Linked DNA regions of Homo sapiens: region 2 is linked to region 1. Evidence: promoter capture Hi-C in human tissues and cell types (Jung and others, 2019). All regions are on one chromosome and are shown on one strand. Each heading gives the region's core, a stretch centred on a gene start or on the middle of the fragment in contact. The rest is flanking DNA. Distances are from core to core; before and after follow the strand shown.

What was found. The method cuts DNA at HindIII sites, captures the fragments that hold promoters and counts their contacts. A contact is called where the count stands out against the background at its distance.
Region 2: a fragment that was not itself captured here is called in contact with the fragment with the promoter of ETV1 in region 1 in 3 of the 25 tissues and cell types used here (dorsolateral prefrontal cortex, lymphoblastoid cells and mesenchymal stem cells).

What each region holds. Positions count from the first base shown.
Region 1 is chr7:13,987,506-13,993,357 of GRCh38, reverse strand. It overlaps ETV1 (ETS variant transcription factor 1), which reads left to right and starts at 3,692. Exons shown (of 14, transcript NM_004956.5): 1 at 3,692-3,795; 2 at 3,894-4,090; 3 at 4,219-4,350; 4 at 5,185-5,272. The coding sequence starts at 4,306. RefSeq lists an enhancer at 1,671-2,172. The HindIII fragment of the contact is 5,948 bases long and covers 311-5,852 here.
Region 2 is chr7:14,673,221-14,679,072 of GRCh38, reverse strand. All of the region lies in intron 12 of DGKB (diacylglycerol kinase beta), which reads left to right. Among named protein-coding and RNA genes, the nearest start is that of DGKB, 230 kb to the left of the region's middle. The HindIII fragment of the contact is 4,743 bases long and covers 1-4,485 here.

The sequences.
Region 1 (5,852 bases), core at 2,443-4,942:
TCTTTCACCCTCCTGTGAGGACTCTATGTTCTCCTTTGGAATTATTTTCACTTGTTCATTTTCTTGGCCAATTTTGCTGTTTAATTTTATATCTTTTTCTTATCTATTTGATGTAACTGTGCAAACTAGATCTTTAACAATTTGCCTTACATACTGTTTTAATACAACAAATTTTAAAAGTTACTGTTTTACTTAATACTCTACTCAATTTTGAGCAAACTTCATTTGATTTTAATTATAGCAACCATTTAAAACAAGCAGCGCCATTTTAGCTTGTTGCCTTTCTGTAACTGCTTTTAGAAATTCACTTTCTTTAACAACGTGCAATTTCTTCATAATGCCATAGTAAGTTAACTGTAGAGAAGTCACTAATGAATATTATTTTACTTTATTAAATAACAGCAAGGGAAATATAAAAATTTAAATAGTTTTACATGCAACCTAAAAACTTTCCAAACTCAAAAATGGACTTTTTTTTGGAGGGGGGTAGCTTTCTCTCAAGAACTCTTATTTCAAAATCCAAATGGGATTTCAAAATACAAGCAAATAAATGTCAAAGCCTCTTGGCCTCTGCTCTGCCATTCTATGCCTGAAATCCTGCCAAAATGAAATTTTCCGTTCAAAAGGGCTGGCATTTACTAAACTGATGTTTTAAAGACATTCTCAAAAAGTAGTGGAAACTTTGTCCAGCTTTTTATGTTCCTGTCTTGTAGACAGAACAGCTGCCTTTGCAGATATTTTCCAAGATCTTACATTTTCTGAAAAACAAATTTTCAGCCCTTCCACTGTCTTCAGCAAGTGGGTCTATTGGTTTTTCCCAGTGCCAAGCAGAGAAGATAAACAACTGCCAAACTAGAAGCTAGTGTCTGAGTATCAAGGCATAGAAAGGACAGAAGAGATAGTGTTTCAGTAAGTATCAATGCAGAGAAAGGACAGAAGAGAAAGTGGGAGAAAGAAAAGAGGGTGGTTCAATCGTTCACAGTCAAGAGGGACACATTTATCTCAAAATTTTAGGCTGTTTCAACAAAACCGAGCTGTAGCGAGACTAGCTGCTTATTCACACGAGAACATCATTTTCAGTTACTATGAAGATCAAAGAGTTAAAAGATATGAGTTCGTTTAAAGAACTCAAAAGGGAAAATATGAAGCCACCGCAATACGTAGTAAAATCTGAGGCTTAACAGCGCAGCGCCTGAGAGTGCCAGTCCACTAAAGGGAGGGAGAAGGGGCGCAGAGCTTATGGGGGCCTGGGAAGGAGTGATAAGTCTTTGGAAATGGAAACTAAAGCTATCAGCCAGCGAAAACCATCAATATTCCTAAAAATATATAATACTAATAATACATAAAAGCTTTAAAAAACTAACAAGACACTGTGGGATACAAAAAAAGGTAGAAATGAAAATTACAGAATGTTAAGTGAAAAAACTGAAATCCATCTACAGTCGAACAGTTTGCACCTTTAAAAGCAATGACTTGAAGCAGCAAGCAAAAGTTCCCAGTCCTTAAGACTTTCTCCCCACTCTCAATTCTTTCTTTCCTCTAGTGCAAAAGCTGTCTAAGCAGTGCACGCCGGAATTATCCCCACGTGAGCCTTCCTTTAATTTCGGTCTTAATTTTTTTCTCTCTTGTTATTACTCCCAGACCCCAACCTCTTTTTCCTCATCTAGTATCTGTTTCAGGGACAGGACAAAGAGGAGGCAGCGAGCTGAAAAAAGTTTTGTGGTTTGGGATACTTGGGCCTTTGTTGTGTCATTTCCTCTACCCCTCCACGCCCCCAACCACGTGACCAAGAAGGGCCGGAATTTTGTGAATGGAGACGAAAGGTGGCTGTTGGGGCGGGCGGGACTCCGCCCCCTTCCCTAAAGCGGCCAATCTCCTAGCGGAGCGCTGAGGGGTCAGCAATAAACAACAATGGGCTGGGGATTTACGGCTCGTTATTGGCTGCGGGAAGAACCTCGCCGGGACCTAACCCGAAGCTCCGCCCCCTCGCGGTTACCCTGGATACCCGTCAGGCTCGGGCTGCAGAGAAGGTCTTTGGAAACTGTTGCTCAGATTACAGGCGCTGGGTTATTCCAGGAGTGCAGGGTGGTGGAGGACCCTTGTTATTGACCCCCTGCTTGGTTGCACCCTCAGATAGTACCCATGAGCTTCACTGTTCAGCCTCGGGGCCCAGGCGCTTCCTGGAATCTCTCCTTGGCCGGGGTTAAAATGCAGTTCCCGCTCAAAATGCTTATAGGTGCGCGCGTTGTGAACTCCGATTTAGTAGTTTCCGGGAATGCGCGGGGTCTGTCTTTGCTGTCCATAGTTATTGGTTGTTTTCCCAGTAATAAGTGTTGATTGTTTGTTTGTTTGCTTCTTTTTTAAGTAGATCTTTCTCCTGCCCAGGTCCGGGGTTGAGTGCTGTGCGCTCTTACACTCCATTTTAATGTGTCTCCATAACGTTCTATTTAAGGAAGGAAACTTTCAAATAGAAATTGAGAACTGCAGCACGTTTCCTAACGGGCGGAACAGCTGCCGGAAACGTCTTTTGGTCACTAGTTCTGGTCACAAATGAATTTCAACAGCATTGAGTCCCTGGTCCTATCCCCGCGGCCTCCCGTCCGCTGTTGGACACTGGCTCCTTAAAGTGACGCTTTACTGTTCTGAGTCCCATAGGAGGATCAGGGCAAGTGGCTTCAGAGATGCAGCCCTCACTGCTTAACGTCCTAGTTATTGTCCTTGAAACCCGAGCCATCTCACCGCTCGCCCCCAACCCTGGGCTCTGGCTGTTTAAAAGCTGGAGAGGAAGTGAAAGCGTCAAGTACAGTAAGTGACACCCTCCGCCTCCGTGTATACATAACAAAAGCTCAGGAAACGTGCGGGTTCTAGGATATACGAGCAACCCCAAGCACTCCCTCCTCCTCCCCACAGCCACAGTGGACTGGAAGTACCTTTTCCCAGTGCACACGTAGGGACCATTTTGACTTATACTTTTTCACCTAGCTTGCTCTGTTGTCCTCCCATCACAACCTCTGCTAATCAGCAATTCTGCATCTCCTAGGTGCCTTCCTTATAGATTCTTTATGTTTCTGTCCCACGAACGATAGGATCTAATTTTAGTTGAGGATGACTGTTTAAAAAATGTTTCGATAAACCATAATGGTGATGGTGGGTTTTGAAAAACGGGAAAATAAATTGGGCCAAAAGCTGAGTGGGAATGAGGATAGAGAGCGAGGTGAGCTCCTAGTCAGGGCAAGAGTAGAGAGGTTGGAGATCCTGAGGGGAGGGCAGCTGAATAAGGCGGTACGGGCTTTGTGGATCGCGGCTCTAAGGGTATACCAGAACCGCACAACAGTACTTTAAGGAAACCAGCCCAATAGTGGACCTAACACCCCAATAATGGGAACTGGCGACTCGAAACACACGGTTTCAGTATCCCCAGGCGCCTTAACAATAAGCAGCGGGTTACAGAGGAAATCGAGTCTCTCCGTGGCGCTTCCAGGCTGAGGACCCAGCGCCTACCGGCCGAGCACCCCCTAGGGCAGAGGGGCGAGGGAGACCCGCGGGAAGGGGCAGCAAGCCGCCTGATTGACAGCCCGAAATCTGATCTTGTGAAAGAGACGCGGAGCCAATGGGAGGCAGCGATCCATCAGTTTGGATTGGAGGCCCCTGGAGGAGAAGTAGAGGAAAAACCACCGAATTGAGCTCTGTCAGAGGCGCTTTCGGCTTCCAAGGGGGAAGTGCTGGGCTATAATTAATGTTTTTATTAAATTTGGAGGGAAGTTTTTGCAGCCTTTCGCCTAGCGTGGCCTTCAGGTGGGTCTTTCCAACAACTTTTTATGTCTCTCCAGATAATTGCATGGTTGTGGGTCGCAAAAACTATCCTGATGAAAGAGGTGTCTCCGTCTCTTTAGTCCCGTTAGGTGCAAAGCAAGTCTCGTTGATCGCCATTGCTAGTTTTGCACACGTTTGCGAATCAGAGCTGCCCGGGGTACACCGACCGCGCAGGGAAACATCGAGAGTGTAAATAAATACATCGCCTCTTGTTCGGATTTTTGCTACTACCGAAAATATGTAAATTGTGAACTCTGTTGGCTCTCTTTGGATCCAGGTGAAGGAGGCGGTGTAGGGAGGGTTATTTTTGTGAATGGGACTGTCGGAGGGTAATTAGCTATGCAAATTCAAGAGCTTCATTCATGATTTTTTTTTAAGCCTAAAAGCCATCTTGTTCCCCTCTAGGTTGATAGAAGTCCAGATCCTGAGGAAATCTCCAGCTAAATGCTCAAAATATAAAATACTGAGCTGAGATTTGCGAAGAGCAGCAGCATGGATGGATTTTATGACCAGCAAGTGCCTTACATGGTCACCAATGTGAGTGATCAGTTTGAAAGTTGCTGTTTATAAACTTGACTCCGTCGGGGGTGGGGAGAGGGAGAAAATGAGAAGGGAGGGGGCACGGGGGTTGGGATTGCAGATACTTATCTGCTTTGTTGCCACTGTAGGGCGACTCTGCTTCTAGAAGCCCAGTCTTCAAAATGAGCTTACCTTTCAGTGATTTGGATAAGGCATAGTTTTGTTTTTAAGACCCCTTTTTCTGATTAAAGTGCCCAACATGAGTGGAAGAGGAGATGGAGGGCAGCAGCAGCTGCTGCACTCAAAGTTTTTGGCTGGGTTTGTCTGCCACATTGAAAAGAATGAAGTTGAGACAAATGCTGACACTTTTTGTTTATATGGGGTGTTTTTGTTTCTTTTTTTTTTCTCATTTTCTCTTTTTTTTTTTTTTCATTTCTCTACTCTTTTTGCTTTTTTTTTTTGTGGGGGTGGGGTGGGGAGGAGGGGCTGTCCAAGAGAGAATAAAACCCACTGTTTTAATCTAGCATTGAACCAGCCTAAAAACAACTTTAAGTGTAAATGCTTCAGGTTGTTTTGATGCTGAGATACCATGAATATATGATTGATAAATAGTAATGTGCTAAGATCGGCACTGGGAAGCAACTCTCCCTGCCTGCTTAACATAAGCTTTCACTGTCAAATAAGTGAGAAAATGAATATTAGAGTTGATACTATGGACTTCTATTTTTCTATTCAGAGAAGATCCATTAGACTTATGTATGCATGTCTGTGTGTGTGTGTGTGCGCGCGCGTGTGCGTGTGTGTGATCTGAGGTTTACATTCTTTTAAAGGATTTTATCTTTCCCTTTGTAGAGTCAGCGTGGGAGAAATTGTAACGAGAAACCAACAAATGTCAGGAAAAGAAAATTCATTAACAGAGATCTGGCTCATGATTCAGAAGGTGAGGTTTGATTTTGGGCTGAATCCCCATTTTTTTACCTACACTCTCCACCCTGCTAAAAGAAAAGGAGCACTTCAGTCTTATCTTAAAAATAATAAACTTTGAAATTACTGAATCTAACTAAGACTTTAACTTGGAACGATTTACATAATGCGGCAGTTTGCATGGGAGACTATTTTATGGTCCTATCACAAAGTAATGAAAGAAGGAAATAAAAACTTCTCAATGACAACCTTCTTTTAATCATTGTTTTGTGTTTAAATACCTTTGTCCATGGGGCATATAACTCACCCCATTCACTAAGATAACAATTTAAAAATATCCAATACAGTGGGACAAATTCAGCAGCTATGTACACTGCTTACTTTTTTCTTTCTCCTTTATTACAAGTTAAACAGTATTAGTGATTGTTTGGTTTCCCACCTCCTTTACACTAAAACCATCTACTATTAACAGAATTTTCAAGGGTGATTTTGATGACTAAATTGTGAGGTCATAATACCTTGTTTATCGACCATAATGTGTTCACTGAATCATACTTAAGGCCTCCTTAATAATTATAATACTATTTGGGAAATTA
Region 2 (5,852 bases), core at 865-3,364, 690 kb before region 1:
GAATCCTGTGGTCCTGAATCTCACTAAATCCTAAGCCCAACTGACTGATTTTTATTCCCAAAGACTGTTACTACAACTCTCTCATTCTATCAGACCTGGTATTGTCATGCTTCCAGTCACTGGAAAAAAAGTTTGAAGTCAATTTTTTTTACTCTTGTCTTTTACCTTTATCTCTTGTACACAACCTGTCACTGAGTCTTGTCATTTCCTACTTAAAATATCTCTCTCAGATTTGAGGTTTTGTCTCCACATTCGCAGCCCTAGTGCAAGCTCTTAGCACCTCTTGACTAGATTAGAGTCAAAATCTCTTGGCTCATCTCCCTAACAGAAGGTACTTTTCCTATAATGCAGGCTGCATACCACCTCCAGAAAGATCTTCTGAAAATACTAGTTTGTTATATGCCTTCTTTAGCAATCTATAATAGTTCTGTGATAATAAATGCAGCCCTCAACACCCCTTGCATCAAGTTGGTTTTTAGTTCTTTAGAAATCAGAATCAAACCTAAACATAACTGTATATAATATTCCTCTTCTACACACACCCTCTGCCATAGCTGTGTATTTCTGTTGGCAGTCCCTTGGGGAGGCCATGTTTCCCTCATGCCTACTATTTTGTTCATCCCGGTCCCTTGAATGCACCTGTCTTAAATTCTAATCATACCTTAGGAAACAAGTTAGGTTACCTGTCTTCCTTGAAATTTTTCTTGACGCTAATATATCTTGATTCTGAATAGTTTCTGTACTTACATTCCACATCCAAAGGAAAAACTCAAATGCTCTCCATTGGTTTCACACCATAGTCTAACATCGTTTGCACTGTTAACTGTGGCCCGCTCCTGTTGCTTGTCCATGTCACACATTTTTTCCTAATCACCTGAAGTTCTTGACAAAGTACTGAGTGTAGAAAAGTCTTCAGTAAGATCACTTTAATCTCTGATATGCTATTCTTACAGTAGAATATTAAATTTCAAACATATGTACTATTTAAGTTTTGTTTTATAATATCATCCTGTAATACTCAAATCTCCATCAGATATGCAAGTAAACTTAAACAAATACTTAAGAATCAATTTTCACACCCATTTTTCAGTTCATACTTGCAGTTTCTTGATTTACTAGTTGGCTATCTTGTAGATATAAAGTTAGGCTCTTAGAATGAAATTTTCTGTTCATTTGTAAATCTAGCCACTTCAAAATTAAAAATACGAAAAGCTTAGGAAAGATCAGTGGAAAACTGCCTTCTGATAATTAGGCAACCAGTCTCTGTGTTTTATATTTCAATCCTCTGTGACAGGCAAAATATTCACCTCAGTTCTCTTTTCTGTCTTGATTACTAACATCCTTAATATCCCACTGCTTATACCTGTTCATTTCTTCTGAAACTGTGTTTTCTTGACCTTCGTTGTATAACATGTTGTGAATCATTGCTTGTCAAGGTAAGCTCTCACTGGTCAGGCAGGACTCACCAGGATGGGAAGTTGAGGGATTTTATTTAGGCTTGAAAAAATAACACCTATTTCATAAAAATGAATTACTAACTTTTGCTATGATATAGAGATAATATTGTTTATTAAGATACTAAATTCCTAACAGTAATGTTTAAAGGTTTCCAATGCCATGGAAACATTTCTGCTTCAGTAAATGCCAGTCTTAGGAAGTACCCCAAACTGCAAAATATTAGGGGCCAGTGTAACAGGTGAACCAGTAAATATGTGCCTCCAAATCAGGTCTTCAAATTTTTCTTTAGAAAAGTAGCTTATTTCTCTTCTTATTTTCCTCTAAATTCCTATGAACACTTATTTTCCATTTTTCCTCCTTTTGACTTCTCAGATCCCATTTTCTTCTCTGACCAGCGCAGCCACTCTTCCTAACTCCATCCATAGAACTATATGCTGGCACACATGCACACAGACATCCACACACTTTCTTTTTCTTTCTATCTTGAGACAGCTTTTTCTAATAAACATAGATCTGGCTCTAAATTAGGTGCTACTGGAAGTTGTCATAAACTCTGAAATTATTTCCAAGTGTTTAATTCACTTCCAGGAAAAGCTGGTTTCTATTATATGATTTTCCTACATATGGCACTGAATCCCTTAACATGAATGGGAATTTCTGGATGTATATTTAAAAATGAGCTAAGGATTTCTATGCCTTGGCTTGAAAAAAATACAAAGATAACTGAACAAAAATGTTTTTTTAAATTTTAAATAGTAAACATTTGATTTTCTCTGGTGCGCTATTGGTTATTTTACTAAAGAGGCAGCATCTTCAATGCTGTAGTTCATTTCTATTCTTGATGAGGACCCTGGTGTTTAGGATTTTGCTGATTTGGGATATAGGTTATCTTTAAAACAATAGTCAGCCTTCAGCATCTTATTTACACTGAGAAGGACCCAGCTGTGTCTTTTTCTTATATTCTTGTCCACGAAATATGATGATAAGTTTAAGCAACTTTCTATTGTTGATGATATTCACTTATTTAATTTTTTTATTTTTAATTTTGTGGGTACTTAGTAGGTATATACATTTATGAGGCACATGAGATGTTTTGATACAGGCATGCAATGTGAAATAAGCACATCATGGAGAATGGGGTATCCATCCTTTCAAGCATTTATCCTTTGAGTTGCAAACAATCCAATTACCTTCTTTTAGTTGTTTTAAAATGTACAATTAAATTATTACTGACTGTAGTCACCCTGTTGTGCTATCACATAGTAGGTCTTATTCATTCTTTCAAACTATAAAAAGCTTTTCATTGAAGGAAAGTGTACATACAGAAAGGCATTTATATCCAAAGGGCAGAGCCCAATGAATTTTCCCCACATGAATGTTCTGTAAGCAGTACCTGATCAGGAAACAAAATATTACCAGTATCTTAAAGAAAAAAAATTTGTAGCTTTTGAATTCTATTGTATAATTTTGTTGATTTTTGCTTTTTAAAATAGACTTTATGATTTAGAGCAATTTTAAGTTCACAGCAAAGATGATATTCACTTTTACACTTTATAGGTGGTCCTGAAAATGATACACATTTTTCACATTGGCTTTCACATTGTATATTTTTTCCTCAAGTATATCTCCAAGAAATATGATGCATAAACTAAACCTGTCATACAAATTTGATTCACGACTTGTAAAATGATCCGTACTCCTAACATGATGCCCTCAGTTTTAACACTCTTGGCTACAAACAACGTCATAATGTTGATGGTTAAGAAAATGTATTTATTAGCTGCCAGATTCTAGTCTTAATACAAGCATAAGGTATTCCTGCATATTATCAAATATAGACTTCTTGGTTAGGAGAATTTTCTTGCATTGTGTGACTCTGTTTAACAGATGATAGTATGGTTACTAAACTTATAGATCCTCCTATGTCTTGGGGAGTGCCTTACGACCGCCTAGACAAAACTCAGGACCACAGCGGCAATCAAACTGGGAAATCCCATACTAGATTTATTTGGCTCTGCAAAGACCAGAATTTCATGGAATCAACTGTCAGTACCTATGCTCTGAAACTCCCAAATCCCAATATACAGAGTTGCCCCTTCACACACACTCTGGTAAGCTCATCTATTGCATGATTCTATCTGAGTCTTCGATTCTTTCCTTCCTTCTGGGAAACTAGCCTAAATGCCCCCAAACTATCATCAAATTAATTTTATTTTTGTCATCCTTTCTTACATCAGTAACCCTCAAATAACTATACAGAGAGCTTAGTCGTCCTTTACCATGTCAGTTGCAAATTGTTGGAAACACATGGATGGAGGTGTGGAGGAGGCTGAGGCCTCTGACTGCATCTGTAGTCAGCGTTGGCATAAGACTCAGTATGTCCTGCCCCTGTGGCCTTCAGAGTCACGTGTTTAGCTTTACACTGTAATCAAGAATAATATTTCAACACTTTCTTGCTGTAAACACAAATAGGTTTTTATCTCAGATCTGTTTTTTGTAGAGGGTTCTTAGCGTCTGTTTTCTCAGTTTTAAGGAAGTTGCCCAAGATTAAAGAGCCAAAGCTCTTTCTCTGTGACATCCATAGTGCAGCAGAGTCTTAAGACCCATAATCTCTCTTTGGTTTTAGTGCCGTTTTCATAGTACTGGGTTTATTAGTTTCCTAGGGCTGCTGTAACAAAATGTCATATAATAGGTGCCTAAAACAACAAGAATGTATTCACTCATAGCTCTGGAGGCTAGAATTCCAAATGTCAGCAGGTCATCCTCCCTCTGAAGGCTTTCTGGAAGAATCCTTTTCTGCTTCTTCCTAGCTTCTGGTGGTTGCCAGCAATCCCTGGAATTCTTTGTCTTGTAGTGCATCACTCAGATATCGACCTATGTTATCAGAGGGACTTCTCCTCTCTGTGCCGTTGTCTCTCTGTCCAGATTCCCCTCTTCTTATAAGGACACCAGTCATTGGATTAGGGTCCAGCTAAACCAACATCTTAGCTTAAATACATCTAGAAAGACCGTATTTCCAATTAAGTTCACATTCAAAGGTCCCAGAAGTTAGGACTTCAGCATATCTTTTGGGAGAAATTGATCCATCCCAACACTTGCTAATCTGTTAACTCTAAATCCAAACATCCATGGCCATGGCAGATTCTAAGAAAGTTAATTACTAGGTCCAATAAATTAATAATACATTTTAAACAAGTCACTAATTTTATTTTGAGGAAACTATACCTTTTAATTTGCTCTGAGTATCAGTTTATTTAGTTCTATTGTGCATTCAGCTGCTTCTCTATCTTCAACACTTCTTGCCTCTTGACAAAGACCAGTAGTGCCTAATACAATTAAATCACTTTTTTATAGAGAAGTTTATATGCCCCTGAGAAGCAGAGCTGCTAATTATGGATGAACATGGAAAGATACGTTTATTTCATGTAATGTAACCTAATGGGCATTAATTACAGTACAAGTCATCTTAACTCCAATGCAGGGAGTTAGCATGACAGCAGTGTTAGATTCTAGGACCGCAGAAATACCTCTTTGATACTGTTCTATTACTAAAAATAAATCAACTCTCATTAGACTCCTATGCTTAGTTGATAATTAACTGCTCACAAAGGTATGTATGTTGTGGAAATTAATGCAGCCAAGGCTTAAATGAGGTAGCTTTTGATTCAAAATGGAAAAATAATGTGGCTCTTTTTTGTTTTGAACATAACATGTTATCTTATTGAAATGTATATTTTTTTCTAAAGTATGAAGAGTTCATATCAAATTAATGCATAGTGCAGGAGGGAGAAATCTCTAGATGCCCTCAAGCAAGTATTATTTTACCAAATCTGTGTAATTCTTTAAAAAACTACCATCTCAGTTTTAAAACATCACTATTTAAAACACCACGTTGTAACACCTTAATGTAAACTTATGACCAGGTTAATAAAAATATTAGTTTGGGCTCATACATATTAAAAAATAAATAGGACATTGTATGATTATATACTAACTTAACGTTGAGCTGATAAATACAATATACAGATAAATTTTTATAATCATAATCATCTTCTTTTATTTATATCCTGCTCCTACTGAGATGAATCTCTGGTTACATTTACATATTGAATTACAAAGTTAAAACTAATGATGGGATCAATTATGCCCCATACTGAGCTGTGCACTTTGGAATGACTTTGAGAAAACAGGAGGGTCAAAAAAAAAAAAAAAAAGCATACACAGGCACAGTGGTTTCAAGATTATGCTAACAGATAAGCAAAGGAAGAACTGTAATGGACAATAATTTGTGTTTGTCAAAGAAATCAGGGTTCTTTGGTGTAAAACCTAAAGTACATTTTTAATATAAACATTTCTGAGAATTATAAAATGTATAGAATGGGTCACAGAAGCTG